Regions from separate parts of the Homo sapiens genome. Here all the other regions are linked to region 3. The links are contacts of gene promoters, found by promoter capture Hi-C in blood cells and fetal thymus (Javierre and others, 2016). All regions are on one chromosome and are shown on one strand. The core of a region is centred on a gene start or on the middle of the fragment in contact, and the rest is flanking DNA. Distances in the headings are between cores, read along the strand shown. Region 1 holds the start of RB1CC1 (RB1 inducible coiled-coil 1). Region 2 overlaps PCMTD1 (protein-L-isoaspartate (D-aspartate) O-methyltransferase domain containing 1). Region 3 holds the start of UBE2V2 (ubiquitin conjugating enzyme E2 V2).

The links. The method cuts DNA at HindIII sites, captures the fragments that hold promoters and counts their contacts. A CHiCAGO score of 5 or more calls a contact.
Region 1: a fragment that was not itself captured here is called in contact with the fragment with the promoter of UBE2V2 in region 3 in 2 of 17 cell types (total B cells and naive CD8 T cells); the score reaches 11.0 in total B cells.
Region 2: a contact is called between a fragment that was not itself captured here and the fragment with the promoter of UBE2V2 in region 3, in 1 of 17 cell types (naive CD8 T cells). The highest score is 6.9, in naive CD8 T cells.

The regions. Positions count from the first base shown.
Region 1 is chr8:52,713,531-52,716,230 of GRCh38, reverse strand. It overlaps RB1CC1 (RB1 inducible coiled-coil 1), which reads left to right and starts at 1,796. Exons shown (of 24, transcript NM_014781.5): 1 at 1,796-2,156. RefSeq lists enhancers at 1,232-1,281, 1,302-1,611 and silencers at 1,672-1,841, 1,872-2,341. The HindIII fragment of the contact is 3,580 bases long and covers 1-2,700 here.
Region 2 is chr8:51,894,181-51,896,880 of GRCh38, reverse strand. The region is part of intron 1 of PCMTD1 (protein-L-isoaspartate (D-aspartate) O-methyltransferase domain containing 1); the gene reads left to right. Among named protein-coding and RNA genes, the nearest start is that of PCMTD1, 3.5 kb to the left of the region's middle. The HindIII fragment of the contact is 850 bases long and covers 1,026-1,875 here.
Region 3 is chr8:48,007,080-48,009,779 of GRCh38, reverse strand. UBE2V2 (ubiquitin conjugating enzyme E2 V2) reads right to left here and starts at 1,349. Exons shown (of 4, transcript NM_003350.3): 1 at 1,310-1,349. The coding sequence starts at 1,325. RefSeq lists silencers at 954-1,153, 1,384-1,643. The HindIII fragment of the contact is 2,629 bases long and covers 572-2,700 here.

The DNA.
Region 1 (2,700 bases), core at 107-2,606, 4.7 Mb before region 3:
TATTTTTCAGACAGGGCAACAATCTGTTGTCCAGGCTAGGAGTGCAGTGGTGCCATGATGGTTCACTGCAGCCTCGACCTCCTGGGCTCAACTGATTCTCCCACCTCAGCCTTCTGAGTAACTGGGACCACAGGTGTGCATCACCACGCCCAGCTAATTTTTGTATTTTTTGTAGAGAAGGGGTTTCACTACGTTGCCCAGGCTGGTCTCCAACTCCTGGGCTCAAGCAATCCTCCTGCCTCGGCCTCCCATAAGTGCTGGGATTCCAGGTGTGAGCCACTGCACCGAGCTCCAGCAAGATTTTTACATTCTAAATTGGGTTATATTTGTAATAATGAATGTCACTAATAAGAGGAAGTGCAAGTACCAATACGTTCTTTACAGGCCTCATACTGCAGTTTTTCTTTTCTTTCTTTTTCTTTTCATTCTTGGTCATACTGCCATTTTTCTTAGCCAATTTTCTGGCCAAACTCCTCCTCACCACTTATTTTCTGTGTGCTGATGACTATGCTTTACTACTAAATTTGGCTCTTTTGTCTTGCCAGTTCACACCTTCCCTTAAGGCATAATAACCATTTACTACTTAATTTTCGCTTTTCTCCTCTATCTTGCTGGGGTGGTGTAATAAAATTCCAGCTTAACCAATAAGTAAAATGGCTTGCCAGTGATGATAAAGACCACATTTGTTTGGGATATGTAGCAGCACAAATTTAAAAGTAAATAAATAAAACAAGCCCATCTCAATCCTAACTTACAGATACTGGTCAGTGTGACTGAAAACTGAAATTGTTCATGCTAACCAACGTTTTTCAGTTTCCACCTAACATTTTGTTCAGTTTGGTGCCCTCTTGTGCCTCCTATTTTTACAAACACAACTCAGAATTCCTGATGACTTTAGAGAAGGCACCTCCAAGTTTTCACTCATACCAGATATTCCTGGATATAACAGGAATTTGAGAACTATTATGTAATTATTCTACGTGTAACATCTGCTCATCAGATTTTAATATTCAAGCCTCGTGGCTTCAAGTCATTGCCTGTGACTGATCATCTTCACAAATGCAAGAGTCCCCTGAAACTGTCTCCCAACCATTAGGGTGCTCATGCTAACCCCTAACCCACTAGACCCACTACAAGATTCAGTATTTGTAAAGCTGAAAACGTGGTTGTGGCGTTTACATTTTCATTCCGATTGGCCTAGGCTTCCCTCTCTTCTCTCTTGCATGTTTTCTTGCCTTACCTGGTCTGAGAAATGGTGCCGCCCCACCCTTGCAGAGTTAACAGGGGGACGCTTGCCAGCTGCGTGCAGTCCCGGCGGTCCGGATATGCGGGGAGGTGGCGGCAGGAACGCCTGGGCCAGGCGCTGGTACGTTATCCTGTTACAGACCTTGGCCTAGTCCGCAGGTTGCCCCTGGAGAGGCGACGGGGACACCAGACCCTCGATTGGCTCCGCTCCTCCGCGACAGGCTGAGGGGAACAAGCTCTCTTTCGCCTGGGGACGATCCAGTGTTTGGTGGGTCGACCTTAGTCAGGGCCTAGCTGTCGCAAAGAAGGTCAAATTCACCTTGGGAAAGTACGCACCGGGACGGCAGCTAGCACCATAACAGGCGGCCCCAGCGGAGTCTCCCAGGGTCAGGCCAGGACAGCCAACCTGCCGGCCGGAGAGCCGGAGGCGGGGCCGCCCCCTTCCCGGCAGGCTGCCGACTTCCGGACCTGCGTAGACGCCTCTCTGCGCCTCCAGGCGCGCCCCTCCCCCGGCAGGCCGTTTCCCGGCATGCGCCGCGGAGGAAGAGACGGAGTCGACAATAACAAACCAAGCCGCGGCGGTGTCCGCGGCCCTGCCGAGCCCTCGGCGTTGCCTCAGAATCCCCCAGTCGCCTGGGCCCCTCGGCTCTGACAGGCCGCGGCCTTCTGTCCCCCGGCCCCAGACCCAGAGCCGAGGGGCCTGCTCGCGTCCTTGTCCGCCCGGACCCCTCCCTGCCTCCTAGAGTTCGGGGCCGCGGCGGGCGGGCGCCCGGGACGCCGGCGGTTGTGTCGGCTTAGCGGTGCCGAATGGGCGGTTGGTAACCGCTGCCGAGGACTAGGCGGCGGCGGAAGATGGTGCCGGGGGTCGCTGGCTCTGCTGCTGCCGCCGGCGAAGGAGGAGGCGTTGCCGGGTAAGTGTCGCCGCCGCCCGCGTCCCCTTCCCCCATCTGGCACAGCGGTCGCGCGGCGGGCCCTGGCACGGTGGGCCGGGGTCGCATGGTCCAGGGTTCCGGTCGGCCTGAGCCCGGCCCACGCGCAGGTGTGTGCACGGGAGGGCCCCGGCGCCTCCCGCCCCGGCAGGTGTTGCCCACTGGCCGCTTTCCCGGCGCGACAGCCCCTGTGGAGACAAAAGCGGTTCGAGTCGATGCTCCACTAGGCTGCCGGAGGTGTGGGTCGGACTCGTGCTGCGGGGCTGCCTGCGGCTTCCTCGGCCGGAGCCTTGGGATCCCTCCCTCTGCGCTGCCGCTTAGTACCCGGCCTAGTTGCCGGAGTGGCCGAGGGCGAGGGACGTCCGAACCTCCCAAGACGCATCTTGACTTGTGCTCATCGCTGCCAGGGATCAGCCCTTAATTCTGTGTTGGACTCGAGAAACGGGAGAGTGGAGTTTGGCCGAGGCCGAACGAAGCTCACCGAATGGGAGGAACGGAGAGATGATGTCTTTGTCCCGACCCCAGA
Region 2 (2,700 bases), core at 201-2,700, 3.9 Mb before region 3:
ATAGTGCGTGTTTATATTCAGGAGTGCTTAATCCAAGAACCTGTGTTTTCTGCTCTTGTTTTACCTCCTATGAACGAAAAATTGTTGCCCTTACGGTTTTTTCTGCTTTCTTTGAAATGTTCCTTACAGAATAACTACATGAATGTAATCACATGCATTTAAAATAGTCTAGAGAATATAGTGTGAAACTATAATGGTATTTTTTTAGATGAGGTTTCTGGTGGCATATTACTAAAATTTTAAACTCCTTGATCTTATGCTGTTAACCAAGAAGATGGGGATTTGTGTTACTTTAGACACTGCTGGGTGCCATGGTAAATTGGGATGTTATTGTAAATTGTAGCTCTCACAGCTGCGTATTGCTTACAAACTCGGAAGGATAGTCTCATATCAGTAAACATTTTTATGAACGTAGTTGAACTTTTTTGTAAATTAGTGTGCTGGAAAGAATACCAAGAGGGCCCTAAAAAAGTCTAAAAGGATTAAAATTTACTTATGTAATTATTGGTATTTTAAAATATTTGGTAGTCACTTAAAATGCATAATGACAGACAATAGGGTGTCATAATATGGTTTATTAATCTTTTTTCATTTTCCACTAGATGTGGCAACTACATAGTTGGAAGAAATGTGGCGGCCGGGGGCAGTGGCTCACGCCTGTAATCCTAGCACTTTGGGAGGCTGAGGCAGGTGGATCGCCTGAGGTCAGGAGTTCGAGTCCAGCCTGGCCAACATGGCAAAACCCCGTCTCTACTAAAAATACAAAAATTAGCCGAGCTTGGTGGTGGGCATCTGTAATCCCAGCTACTCGGGAGGCTGAGGCAGGAGAGTCGCTTGAACCTGCGAGTCAGAGGTTGCAGTGAGCCAAGATCGCTCCACTTCACTCCAGCCTGGTCAAAAGAGTGAGACTCTGTCTCAAAAAAAAAAAAAAAAAAAAAAAAAGAAATGGGACAAATACTAACATTAATAAAGTATGGTCAGTTGTAATCTGTATTTGAGAAGAAACCAAAAATACAGGAAAAGCTTTGACATTTTACTGGCAATTGTTAAGGATGATAATTGGATTCATACCTAAATGGCGTATCTGCCATTGATTATCTCTCGGTCAACGTAACATTGGATGTTGGATGTGAGTGGGTTTTATAATTAGGTGACACAGAAATATTTCAGCCCCCTAAAGACGTTTTTAGAATATGGTAAGATTTTTTCAGCTGTTGAAGTGGGGAAGGATTGTGAATCAAACACTATGTGTATGTGTATTCTCAAAAATTAATGAGAGGTATTGCTGATGGGAAGACATAGCATATTTTCCAGTTTAACCTGAAAATCCTTTTTGGAACATTATGCACGGGTAGCCAGAAATAACTCAACTTTATGTCTTGATACAAGACATGCATCAGGTATGATTTCTAGAGCTTAAAATATTCTTGGAGTTTAAAAACTAATTTGCATAAAACACTCTTCTGTGTTTTCTACTGAGCACTCTTCAGTAACTTGCAGGCTCTTAAAAACCTTTAATGATAATCATGTTATCAATTGATGAAGTCAGTTCAGTTTATAATCTAAAGTTATAATGAGCATTGAAAGAGCTGTAGAATGTGAAATGCTGTGAAGGTCTGTCTTGGTGACTTTCACAAACTGGCATCTCCAACTCTCCCTTCTTGGGGCCTTTGTTTGTTTTTCTCTCTCACTTCCTGAAGTATAGATAGATGTTGCCTGTAGGTGTTACCTTAGGTTTAGTTCTTTTCCTTTTTAGAGTTTGTTCTCTTCTTTGGCAATCCCACACAGATCCGTGGTTTCAACTGCTCATTCCCCTCACCCTCTTTGCTCAGGCTTCCACTTGTGTATCATCAGCCTTATTTTCATTCCCAAGCTTCAGATTTGCCAATGTTGTTCTCCCTGATCAACTTAGTAGCTGTCATTTTGTAATCTTGAATCAGTAGATTCAGAATTAAACTTTTTTTGCAAGCCTGATTCTTCTTGCTTGTTTATATTAATGACCTTTGCATTTTCTTAGTCATCTAGACTCAAAATCAAAAGGTCATCCTTGGTTCTTCTCTCTCTCCTTTTCTTAGAATTTTTTTTTTTTTTGTCATCTTACTGCATTGTGGTTCCTGATTTCTTCTATCTTTCTTCAGTTCTTCCAGCAGCCATATACACAGCAAGAGACATTAATCTCTAGGTTTGTCATTCATTGTGAATACTGCTTATTAATTGTCCTAAATGTAGTCCTGATCATGTTCCCTGCCTGATGACAAGCAAACAAAACAAACCCACTTGGGTGTTTATGTCAGTCAGTGTGCTGAATCCTTTGTTCTCATGTGGTCATTATAATTTATATTATCCCCATTCTACAGGTGAAGAAATTGGAACTTCATGATCTTGAAGGAGTTGTTAGTAGGTAGAAGAGCTCTGGGATTTGAATCCCAACCATGTCTTCTTCCAAGTCTGTGTTCTTGACCACTGTGCCTCTGCTGAGTGGCTCCTGATCCACTCTGGAAGAAAGCCCGAGTTCCTCAGTGTTGCCTTTCAAAACTGCATTATTTGACTTCAGTGCCCCTTTCAAAACTTATTTCTTGTTTTAGTTTAAAATATTAAGTTACATTCTTTCTGTCCCAGCAGCTGTTCCAAAAAGAATGTAAACTTCAGTTTTACTTTACTTTTTTGATTTCTTATGCATTTCCATTTCTTGGAATTTTT
Region 3 (2,700 bases), core at 100-2,599:
TAATAAAGATGTAAAAGACACCACTTAATTAAAATGTATGCAGAATGTATCCTGAGGTATTACTCTAAAGCAACAATTACAACATATATTCAAAGCCTTCCATTTCAGTACATATAGATTTGAAAATTCATTTTATTATGCAATGATGGCATAAACTATTAAATCACACTGCTCTATACTCTTGTTTCAACGAAGACTAGGAAAAGGCAGATCAGGCCGAGCGCGGTGGCTCACACCTGTAATTCCAGCACTCTGGGAGGCCGAAGTGGGCGGATCACCTGAGGTCAGGAGTTCGAGACCAGTCTGGCCAACATGACAAAACCCCGTCTCTACTAAAAATACAAAAATTAGCCGGGCCTGGTGGCACGCGCCTGTAATCCCAGCTACTTGGGAGGCTGAGGCAGGAGAATCACTTGAACCTGGGAGGTGGAGGTTGCAGTGAGCCGAGATCACACCACTGCATTCCAACTGGGCAACAGGGTGAGCCTCTGACTCAAAAAAAAAAAAAAAAAGAAAAGAAAAGAAAAAGGCAGATCACACGGGTTAACATTTTTAAATGTAAACTAAAGCTTAACGTTTTTAACATTTCTGAAATGGTCTAATGTCTAAAACCTCAACGTTAATACTTGTGTGCTCACAGGAAACCAAACATTGTATTCAGTAGGAAAGAGGAGTTGAACAGCTTATCTAAGAAACCACTTGTTCTTCAATTAGCTTTCATCTTGCTCTGGTCTTTTATTTTGTTTGCACTGCAGTTTTCCTCATAAATAATAAAAAGATCACACGTATTCAGTCAGGTAAGAAAGATCCTCTCGCTCTTATTTTAAGGAGCAATCGTCCTCTACTCCCCAACCCATGTCAAGGAGAGTCCAAAGGAATGGGACCCCTACTCTGATCCAGGACACCTCTTGGCCTGACCCATCTTCGGTGCCGGTTGGCCTGACCCATCTTCGGTGCCGGAGGTTGACACCCGCCCACCTTGGGCCTCCTCGCCTCCCTCCCGTAGAGCCTTCAGCCTACAACTCGGACCCGCGCCCGCCGGAACCTACGGGGGCGCCCGCGCGGGAGCCACCCCGCCCCCAGCCCGCCGGCGCGCGGCCGACGCGCGAGCACGACCCGCCAACCCGACGGCCGCCGGGGCCTCGGCGCCGGTCCCACCCGGTCCCAGGCTACGCTCTGCGGAGAGCGCGGCATTCGAGACAGCGCACTCGGGCTTCTCCCGCACGGTCAGCGCTCGGGCGCCAGCAGCAGACGGAGGGGCAGAGCCGGGTCGGAGCGGAAAATCACGCAGCCCGGCCCGGGAACCGACCTGTGGAGACCGCCATCTTCTCCTGCAGCCCGACGCAGCCGCCCGCACGCACGCACGAACCGTCGCGCGTCACTTCCGGGAGCGCGCCGCCCTGCACGCGTCACAGCGGACTCCGCCCCCGGCGGGCGCGGGGCGACCCGAGGGACAGCGCGCACGTGGGCCGAGGGGTCGCGGGGCCTCGCTGCTGTTTCCGCAATTCCCTTGTGAATCCCGCTCTCAAAATGAAACGCTAAAGAATAAGTTCATGAGGGCCGGGCGCGGTGGCTCACGTCTGTAATCCCAGCACTTTGGGAGGCCGAGGCGATCGGATCACCCGAGGTCAGGAGTTCGAAACCAGCCTGGCCAACATGGCGAAACCCCGTCTCTACTAAAAATACAAAAATTAGCCGGACGTGGTGGCGCGCGCCTGTAATCCCAGCTATTTGGGAGGCTGAGGCACGAGAATCGTTTGAACCGGGGAGGCGGAGGGGCAATGAGCCGCGATTGCGCCACTGCACTCCAGCCTGGACAACAGAGCGAGACTCCGCCTCAAAAAAATAAATAAAAATAAGTGGGCATTGACAGATTTGCGTTGATAAACGATTCAAAAGAGTTGGACAATAAATTTGAACAGCTAGGGATGCTGAGGTGGGAGGGTCACGTGAGCCCAAGAGGTGAGGCTGCAGTGAGCAGAAATCGCTGCACTCCAGCCTGGGCAACAGAGGGAGACTCCATTTCAAAAAAAAAAAAGAAAGAAAGAAAAAGGAAAGTAATACAGGCTGGGCGCCGAAGCTCACTTCTGTAATCCTAACACTTTGGGAGGCTGAGGCAGGAGGATGGCTTGAACCCAAGACTTTGAGACCAGCTTGGACAACATAGTGATACCTAGTCTCTACATAAAACTGAAAAAAAAAAAAAAAAAAGATTTTTCACATCCCTTGTAGGTTGTATTCCTAGGTATTTTTATTCTCTTTGTAGCAATTGTGAATGGGAGTTCACTCATGATTTGGCTCTCTGTTTGTCTGTTATTAGTGTATAGGAATGCTTGTGATTTTTGCACATTGATTTTGTATCCTGAGACTTTGCTGAAGTTGCTTGTCAGCTTAAGAAGATTTGGGGCTGAGACTATGGGGTTTTCTAAATATACAATCATGTCATCTGCAAACAGAGACAATTTGACTTCCTCTTTTCCTAATTGAATACCCTTTATTTCTTTCTCTTGCCTGATTGCCCTGGCCAGAACTTCCAATACTATGTTGAATAGGAGTGGTGAGAGAGGGCATCTTTGTCTTGTGCCGGCTTTCAAAGGGAATGCTTTTGGCCGGGCATGGATCCCAGCACTTTGGGAGGCGGAGGCGGGCGGATCACGAGGTCAGAAGATCAAGACCATCTTGGCTAACACAGTGAAACCC